2 separate regions of the Homo sapiens genome follow, and region 1 is linked to region 2. Evidence: promoter capture Hi-C in human tissues and cell types (Jung and others, 2019). All regions are on one chromosome and are shown on one strand. Each heading gives the region's core, a stretch centred on a gene start or on the middle of the fragment in contact. The rest is flanking DNA. Distances are from core to core; before and after follow the strand shown. Region 1 overlaps CHST12 (carbohydrate sulfotransferase 12). Region 2 holds the start of LFNG (LFNG O-fucosylpeptide 3-beta-N-acetylglucosaminyltransferase).

Evidence for each region. Contacts are between HindIII fragments. The study calls those that stand out against the background at their distance.
Region 1: a fragment that was not itself captured here is called in contact with the fragment with the promoter of LFNG in region 2 in 2 of the 25 tissues and cell types used here (lymphoblastoid cells and spleen).

Annotation. Positions count from the first base shown.
Region 1 is chr7:2,425,715-2,429,667 of GRCh38, forward strand. The region is part of intron 1 of CHST12 (carbohydrate sulfotransferase 12); the gene reads left to right. Among named protein-coding and RNA genes, the nearest start is that of CHST12, 24 kb to the left of the region's middle. The HindIII fragment of the contact is 4,686 bases long and covers 1-3,953 here.
Region 2 is chr7:2,518,524-2,522,568 of GRCh38, forward strand. It overlaps LFNG (LFNG O-fucosylpeptide 3-beta-N-acetylglucosaminyltransferase), which reads left to right and starts at 1,251. Exons shown (of 8, transcript NM_001040167.2): 1 at 1,251-1,770. The coding sequence starts at 1,339. RefSeq lists silencers at 777-1,306, 1,317-1,426 and enhancers at 3,358-3,487, 3,528-3,587. The HindIII fragment of the contact is 23,923 bases long and covers 1-4,045 here.

The sequences.
Region 1 (3,953 bases), core at 496-2,995, 92 kb before region 2:
CAAGCTTGTCCCTTTTCCTCTTGTATCCAACTTGCAGGTCTTCTCCCATGCTGTCTATTTGATCTTTATTTTTTTGGGTGGAGAACTTACCACTTATCCCACTATACGTTTCCATCTCTTATTTATTTTCAGCTTTACTTCTCGTCTTTCCAGGGTGTCATCTTTCTGAATGCAGATTCTGGGGAGTCTGCACTCTGGTGGTGGCAGCACAGGTGCCAGGGGTCAGGGGTTAGACGCTCTGGGGGAAGGGCCTGGCAGAAGGCAGTAAGCTGGAGGGAGAGACAGGCTGGGGACGACGGGGCTCGCTAGATCAGCAGGGGACCTCTTTGGGGGACCTGCATAGTCCGGGATGGGAGTAGGTAGATGGGCATCGTGCGAAGGGACTGCCAGTGAGAAGAGGGCAGCTGGCTGTGGGGACGAATATTCAGGGGGCTGGGACTCATTTCTGTAAAGGAACCAACGTCCTTAGCAAGAAGCCAAGGCAGGAAGGTGGCCCAGGGTTGCCCCAGGATAGGACCTGGCATGGAACCTCAGGGGCTTGGTCACAAGGGGCTTCAGAGCCAGGCTGATGTGATGGGGGCCTCTGAGCCTGAGATTCACTCGGTATTGACTGCACCCTACCATGTGCATGCACGTGGTGAGCACAACCAGACGGAGCCCACCCTCCCCAGCTATGTGAGTGAGAGCGGGAGTAATTAAACATACACACCCCAAATAAGCACACAGTTGCTGATGGGACCTATGGAGAGTGCATAGTCTGGGATTTGACCCAACTGGGAAAGACTTCGCTGAGCTGGGGATGAGTAGGTGTCTACTGATGACGGGGCAGGGGCGGGTAGACAGATGTCCTTGCCTTGTTCATGATCTTGGTGGTAAGGTACTCACTCTTGCACCCTTAATTATGAGGTTAGCTGTAGGTTTTTTTTTTTAAAGCACTCAGATTGTTGCTAATATTAAAAAAATATAACATACAAGAGTGACAGGAGAGACATACAGTCCGGGTGTGGTGGCTTATGCCTGTAATCCCAGCACTTTGGAGGCCGAGGAAGGTGGATCACTTGAGGTCAGGAGTTCAAGACCAGCCTGGCCAACATGGTGGAGCTCCATCCCTACTAAAAATACAAAAATTAGCCGGGTGTCAGGGTGGGCACCTGTAATCCTAGCTGCCTGGGAGGCTGAGGCATGAGAATCACTTGAACCTGGGAGGCGGAGGTTGCAGTGAGCCAAGATCATGCCACTGCACTCCAGCCTGGGTGACACAGCGAGACCCTGTCTCACAAAAGAAAAAGAGAGAGAGAGAGAGACATATAAATGAAAAAGTACTCAGTTTAAGAAATTTGTAGCACTTTGCAAGGCCGAGGTGGCCAGGCTGAGGCATGAGAATCACTTGAACCCGGGAGGCGGAGGTTGCAGTGAGCCAAGATCATGCCACTGCACTCCGGCCTGGGTGACACAGCGAGACCCTGTCTCACAAAAGAAAAAAGAGAGAGAGAGAGACATACAAATGTAAAAATACTCAGTTTAAGAAATTCATAGCACTTTGCGAGGCCGAGGTGGCCAGCTTGCTAGAGCCCAGGAGTTCAAGACCAGCCGGGTTAACATGGTGAGACCACAACTCTATAAAAAATTTTTAAAAATTAGCCCGGCCCAGTGGTGTGTATCTGCAGTCCCAGCTACTTGGAAGGCTGAGACGGGAGGATCACTTGAGCCTAGGAGGTCAAGGCTGCAGTGAGCTGTGATTGTGCCACTGCACTCCAGCTTAGGTGACAGAGCAAGGCTCTGTCTTGAAAAAAAAAAAAAAAAGTTTACACATTTGTTTGAAGATGAAAAGTTCAACACAGTTTGGGCCTTCCATCTGCCACCCCCCCCTACAGAGATGATAGAAAAATGGTACAGCTGTAGGGTGTTTGTAGATGCCCTATAAGTTGAGGATATCCTCTTTGCTAAGTTTGCTGAGAGTGTTTATAATGAATGGATATGGGTTTTGTTGTTCCTTCCTGTAGGAGTTGATTTTTTAGCTTGTTAATATGATAGATTACATGGTTGATTTTTGAACATTGAGCCGTTCTTGCATACCCTACTTGGTCATGCCGTGACTCCTTTTTGTTTGTTTGTTTTTTGAGATGGAGTCTTGCTCTGTCACCCAGGCTGGAGTGCAGTGGTGCGATCTCGGCTCACTGCAACCGCCACCTCCCAGATTCAAGCGATTCTCCTGCCTCAGCCTCCCGAGTAGCTGGGACTACAGGCACCCGTCACCATGGCCAGCTAATTTTTTGTATTTTTAGTAGAGACGGGGTTTCACCGTGTTTGGATCTCCTGACCTCGTGATCCACCCACCTCGGCCTCCCAAAGTGCTGGGGTTACAGGCGTGAGTCACTATGCTGTGATTCTTTCTATACACTGCTGGATTTGGTTTATTAATATTTTGAGCATTTTTGCATCCAAGTTCATAAGTGATATTGGCCTGTAGCTTTCTCTCTCTCTTTTTTTTTTTTTTTGAGACAGAGTCTTGCTCTATCACCCAGGCTGGAGTGCAGTGGCACAATCTCGGCTCACTGCAAGCTCTGCCTCTCGGGTTCAAGTGATTTTCCTGCCTCAGCCTCCTGAGTATCTGGGATTACAGGCGTCCACCACCATGCCCAGCTAATTTTTTGTATTTTTTAGTAGAGACGGTATTGTGGGATCTGGCCAGAAGCCCACAATGCAACGGGGCTCTTTTATTTGTTCCCAGGCGGATCAGCAGGTCGAGAAATAATAGACACACACAAGACAGTGAAAGCTGGGTCCGGGGGGTGACCGCCTTCTGGTCCTGCGATGCCGCCAATGCACTGGATATACCAGCATTTATTATTAAGTTTAGTGAGGGCGGGGGTAGGTTAGTGAGGGATTTAGGGTCATTTGATTATGAGGTGAGATGGTCACATGGGGATGAAGTAATTCTTTAACATAACATCTGTATGCAGAAGTACAGTATACAGAGATAAGAATTTACAATATAGCATGTGCATCAGTAATTTCTAACAGCCTTAAAACAGAAACACAGGCTTTCCATAACCTATGATTAGCAAGATATTAATCAGCAGTAATAGTTGCAGCAAAAGCTGGTTACAAACAATCCATAGAAACAGGACGTGAAGCTAGACAGCCAGTTAGACCAGAAATTCTCAGAAGGGAGTATGCCTTAACCCTAAAGAGGCCTAGAAGAGCCGTGGCAAGATGAGGGCGTTTATAGCACTATCTTATCCATATGGACAGGCGCCCCCCATGCGTCCGTTTGTAGGCTCTCCACAAGGGTCGCATTCCATTCCCAGAGCTATGAACATCTGCTTTTCTGGGATAGGAATCTTGGTGATGTGAAAGCTCCCTGACTGCATGTCCGTTCATAGGCTCTCTGCAGGGGGAAGCATATCACGTGCTGTTGGCTCATTCTGACAGTCCAACCTGGCATTGTCTTTACACAATCCTGAATGCAACTTTGTATTTACAGTAATCAGGAGCATTTCATCTTTTATTCCATAGCAATAGTTTCAGGGGGTCTCCCTACAAGACAGGGTTTCGCCATGTTGGCCAGGCTGGTCTTGAACTCCTTGACCTCAGGTGTTCCTCCTGCCTCAGCCTACCAAAGTGCTAGGATTACAAGCGTGAGCCACGACGCCCGGCCTCTTTTTTTTTGTACTTATTTTCACTGGTTTGGGTATTAGGATGATGAGTTGGACATGTCCTCTCTTCTCCTTTCTGTAAGAGATTGTATAAAATTGATGTTGTTATTCTTTGAATGTTTGATAGAATTCTTCAGTGAAACCATCTGGGCCCAGAGATTTCTTTTTAAGGAGCTTTTACGTTACAAATTTAGTTTCTTTAATTAGTATAGGATTATTCATTTTGGTAGTTTGTGGTTGTCAAGGAATTGGTCTGTTTCATCTAGGTTGCTAAATTTGTGGGCGTAAAATTGT
Region 2 (4,045 bases), core at 1-2,500:
ACTATGTCCCAAAACCTGTTCCAGGTCTGAATGACACCAGGTCGCTGCTGTCTTGCGGCTGACATTCAGGTAGAGGTAAGGAGAGGGGCTCCAAGGGCACTTAAAGAATTTAAAATGCCATCTCAGGCGTGAACATAACTCCGAGGGGGGCAGTTTAGCCACGGTGGTGGCGGTGGTGGTCGTGGTGGTCGCAGAGACCCTGCTTAGGAGGGCACGGGAAGACAGCGCAGCCACGGGCAGAGCCGCCTCCGTCCACGCTTCCGGAGGACGTGGCGGGCAGGGGGCTCACACCCTGCTCAGGCGACCCTTGGCCACTTCCGGGCCCCTCGCCCCTCACCCTCGGCTGCCGGCGCGCATTCCTGCCGCCCCCGCTCGTGCGAGGGGCGGGCCCGGGCCCGTGGGAAGGGCCGGGGATGGGGGCCGTGTGCCGGGGAGGCGGGGTGGGGAGGGCGCACAGCTGGGCCGCATCTGGCCCGAGCGCAAGGAGACCAAATGGGACAGAAGGCGGCCTTTCATCCGGCGAGGGAAGTGGCGGCCTTCGTTTCTCCTCGCCATGGGGCGCCTGAGGATTTCGGGGAGCCAACCCTCCCGACGGAGGGCCAGGATCGAGGAAATCAGCCAGGGAGGAAGGAGTGGAATTTGGTTCTGGTGCTTTCTCGTTAGAACCTCGTGTCCCCACCTGCGGCACAGGTGGCCAAGCTCTTGCTCTGTACAAATAACGGCTCCCCTGAACCGAGCGCTCGGGAAGACCCAGGCGCCACCCCAGTTTGCAAGGCCTGCCGCGTCCCAAGGGGAGGAAGCCGTGCTCAGGAGGGGAAGCGCACAGCGAGGAAGTAGGATGTCCCCCGCGGTGCGTCGGAGCCCAGAGCCCGGGTCTCAGCACCCTGCCCGCTGCGCCGAGGGCGCGCCCCTCCCGTGCCGGGACGCCCGGTGCATCCCCGGACGGCGCTGGCCAGGCTGGGTTTCCTCTTCAGGGACACCGGCGCGGGCCGGGCCCGTCCCCAAGCCCCTCGGCGGCCCGCAGGGGCTACCCGGGGCGGGGGGGGTGCGGGGCGTGCACGTGCGCGCCGGGGGCGGGGCCGCTGCGCCCTCTGGGCAGTTCCCAGCCCCCAGCCGCGGCCCCACGTGGGTCTGCGGGCGTGGAGCGGCGACCGGCGCGAGGCCCCGCCCCCGAGCCCGGGAGCCAATGAGCGCACGGGGGCGGGACCGGGGCGGGGAGGTTTAAGAGCGCGGGACACTGGTGCTGCGCTGCTGGACTGCGCCGCCGGAGCGACGGGCTTCGGGTCGGTGCAAGGCAGGCGCACGGGGAAGGGCGCGCCGCGCGGCCGCCACCCCACCATGCTCAAGCGCTGCGGCCGGCGCCTGCTGCTGGCGCTGGCGGGCGCGCTGCTCGCCTGCCTGCTGGTGCTCACCGCCGACCCGCCGCCGCCTCCACTGCCCGCCGAGCGCGGCCGGCGCGCGCTGCGCAGCCTGGCGGGCCCCGCGGGGGCTGCCCCGGCGCCCGGGCTGGGGGCGGCGGCGGCGGCGCCCGGGGCGCTGGTCCGCGACGTGCACAGTCTGTCCGAGTACTTCAGCCTGCTCACCCGCGCGCGCAGAGATGCGGGCCCGCCGCCCGGGGCTGCCCCCCGCCCCGCCGACGGCCACCCGCGCCCCCTGGCCGAGCCGCTCGCGCCCCGAGACGTCTTCATCGCTGTCAAGACCACCAAAAAGTTCCACCGCGCGCGCCTCGACCTGCTGCTGGAGACCTGGATCTCGCGCCACAAGGAGATGGTGAGCCCCCCGCGGCCTGGACTGGCGGGCGAGCGGGGCGGGGACCCACCATCTGGTCCAGCTGGTGGCAGTGTCCCATGGGAGTCAGGCTGCATCCCCATCCAGCCACTAGGGCCATCTGTGGGCGACGCCAGTGCACCCCGGTGCACCCAGTTTGCCTGCTGGGGCCACTCTCCCGTTACAGTTGTGTTACTGTCCCCGGGGCCCCGCCTCCTGTCCAGCTCCAGAGTCCTGGATGGCTGCAGGACCCTACACCAGTCTCCAGTGCTTGGGGTTGGTGCCCTGTGATACTTCTCACCCCGTAAACATTGGAGCGCATTCATAGGGCATTATGTCCTCAAACTTCCACAAGCAAATTCTGTTCGGACCCACCCTCAGCTCAGACCCCTTCCTGGGGAGAAAGGCTCTTCCTTTAGAGAAGTGAGGGGTTCTGACCTCTGGGCCCTTTCCTCATCACAGTGTTAAGGTACGGGGAGGGAGGGAAGTCATTGCTGGTTGGTGGGTCCTGGGGAGTACATCTCAAAGAACTCCAGGTTTTGGGGTCTGTGTGGGGACCCTCCCCGCACAGTGCAGTAGTCTCTGAGGCCTGCAACCTTGGGCACAGCCCACTTCAGTTGGGCATCAGCTTCTTACACACACATAATTAAGACACACCCCACTTTGAACATTTCCCTCGAGGCCACAGCAGGACGGTTGGGCTGGGGCGGGATGGGGACAGTGTGTGGGGCTTGCAGTCGGGGACTGGGGGGGTGTCTCTGGGCTGGGAGATGCAGAGGCATTTGCTGTGAGGGTGGGGGCTCAGGGAAGACCCTGCACGCCTTCCTCCCTGCTCAAACCCCGGAGACCCAGGGCCTTCTGACCTGGCGCTGTCCTGTTTTGGGGCACTGTGGGTGGGTGGGAGCAGGGCTTGGTGAGGTCATGAGGGCGACGGGGAGGGGCAGGGTCCTCCCTGGTCCTGGCGTGGGGAAGGGGCCCTGGGAACCCCATGGCAGCCTCCTGGGAACACAGCGTCCCATTCCCAGGGGCTCAGCGGGCTGGCGGGAGGGGGCGGCGGGGGCCGTGGGTTTTGTTTGGCGGCCGGGCCGTTAGGATTCCCAGCGCCGGGCGGCTCTCACGCCGGCCCCTTGGGCAAGGTAACAAAGCCCCTTTCTCCAGCGAGAAAGGCGTCGGGCCCCTTGTGTGCAGCTACGCGCTCCGTGGGAACCGCTGCTGGCGTGCTGGCCACTCAGGTTGCCTGGCGATGAGGGGACCAGCGGGCCCCCCCAGCATCTCTTACTGACAGTCCTTTTGGGGCACCATCCCTGAGCCTGGCCCCCCCACCCCCAGCACTCAAGCCTTACTGCTATGTGATCTTGGGCATCCTTCAGCCCCACTCTGGGCTACCACCAGCTCTGAGCACCTCTCATCTTGGAATTTGGGGCCTTTCTCCAACAGAGGGGATGTGGTCAGAGGGCTGGGCTGTGTGATCCTGAGCAAGACCTGGGGCCTCTCAGACCCTCACTCTGATCTCTGAAATGGGGGAACATGGTCCTTCCAGGAGCACGTTGTAAGAGACTGGCAAAGCCTGCAGGCATGGGGTGAACCCGGCGGGCACTCAGGGTCGAGGTGGGGGCCATCACTCCCTTGAGCCCTGAGGTCCCTACTGGAGGGTCACCCCACCAGGGGACAGGTTGAATCTGCCCTCAGCATCAGTTCACCAGCACACAGCAAGCAAAGACCCCCTTGTGGTGGGTGATGGGCAGGGGTCCTGGAAACCCACAGAAGAGGGCCCCCCTCTCCCAGCCCTGCACGGAATGACTCAGACATGGTCTGATGGGGGAGATAGAAAGATGTCAGGGCTGTGCGGGGGGAAAACCCCGAGAGGCTGTGTGAGGCAACAGTGGGCATCTGACCCACATGCTGGGGGAAGGGAGGGAGGAGGGAAGACTTCCTGGAGGAGGCGCCATTTGAGCTAGACTAAGAGTAAAAAAGTGCCCAGAAAGGGCACTCCATCCGGGCATGGTGATGACCACAGCATGGGGGTTGTGCAGGAAACTTCTAGCAACTGGAGTGGTGGCTGGGGGGAGGGTCGGTTGGTCAGCAGGGGCCGCGCTGAGATGGGCCTGGAGTCCAGGATGAAGAGCCTGGCCTTTGGCCCAGAGGTTCCCCGCCCCTCCCAGGAGCAGCCAGGCTGCCGCGCTGCCACCACAGCGGCCACAATTGCTGGGGAGAACTTGGCATCCTGTGTTTCTTTGAATCGCGGCTCCAGGAACAATGCTGCTTCCTGTGGGTGTCC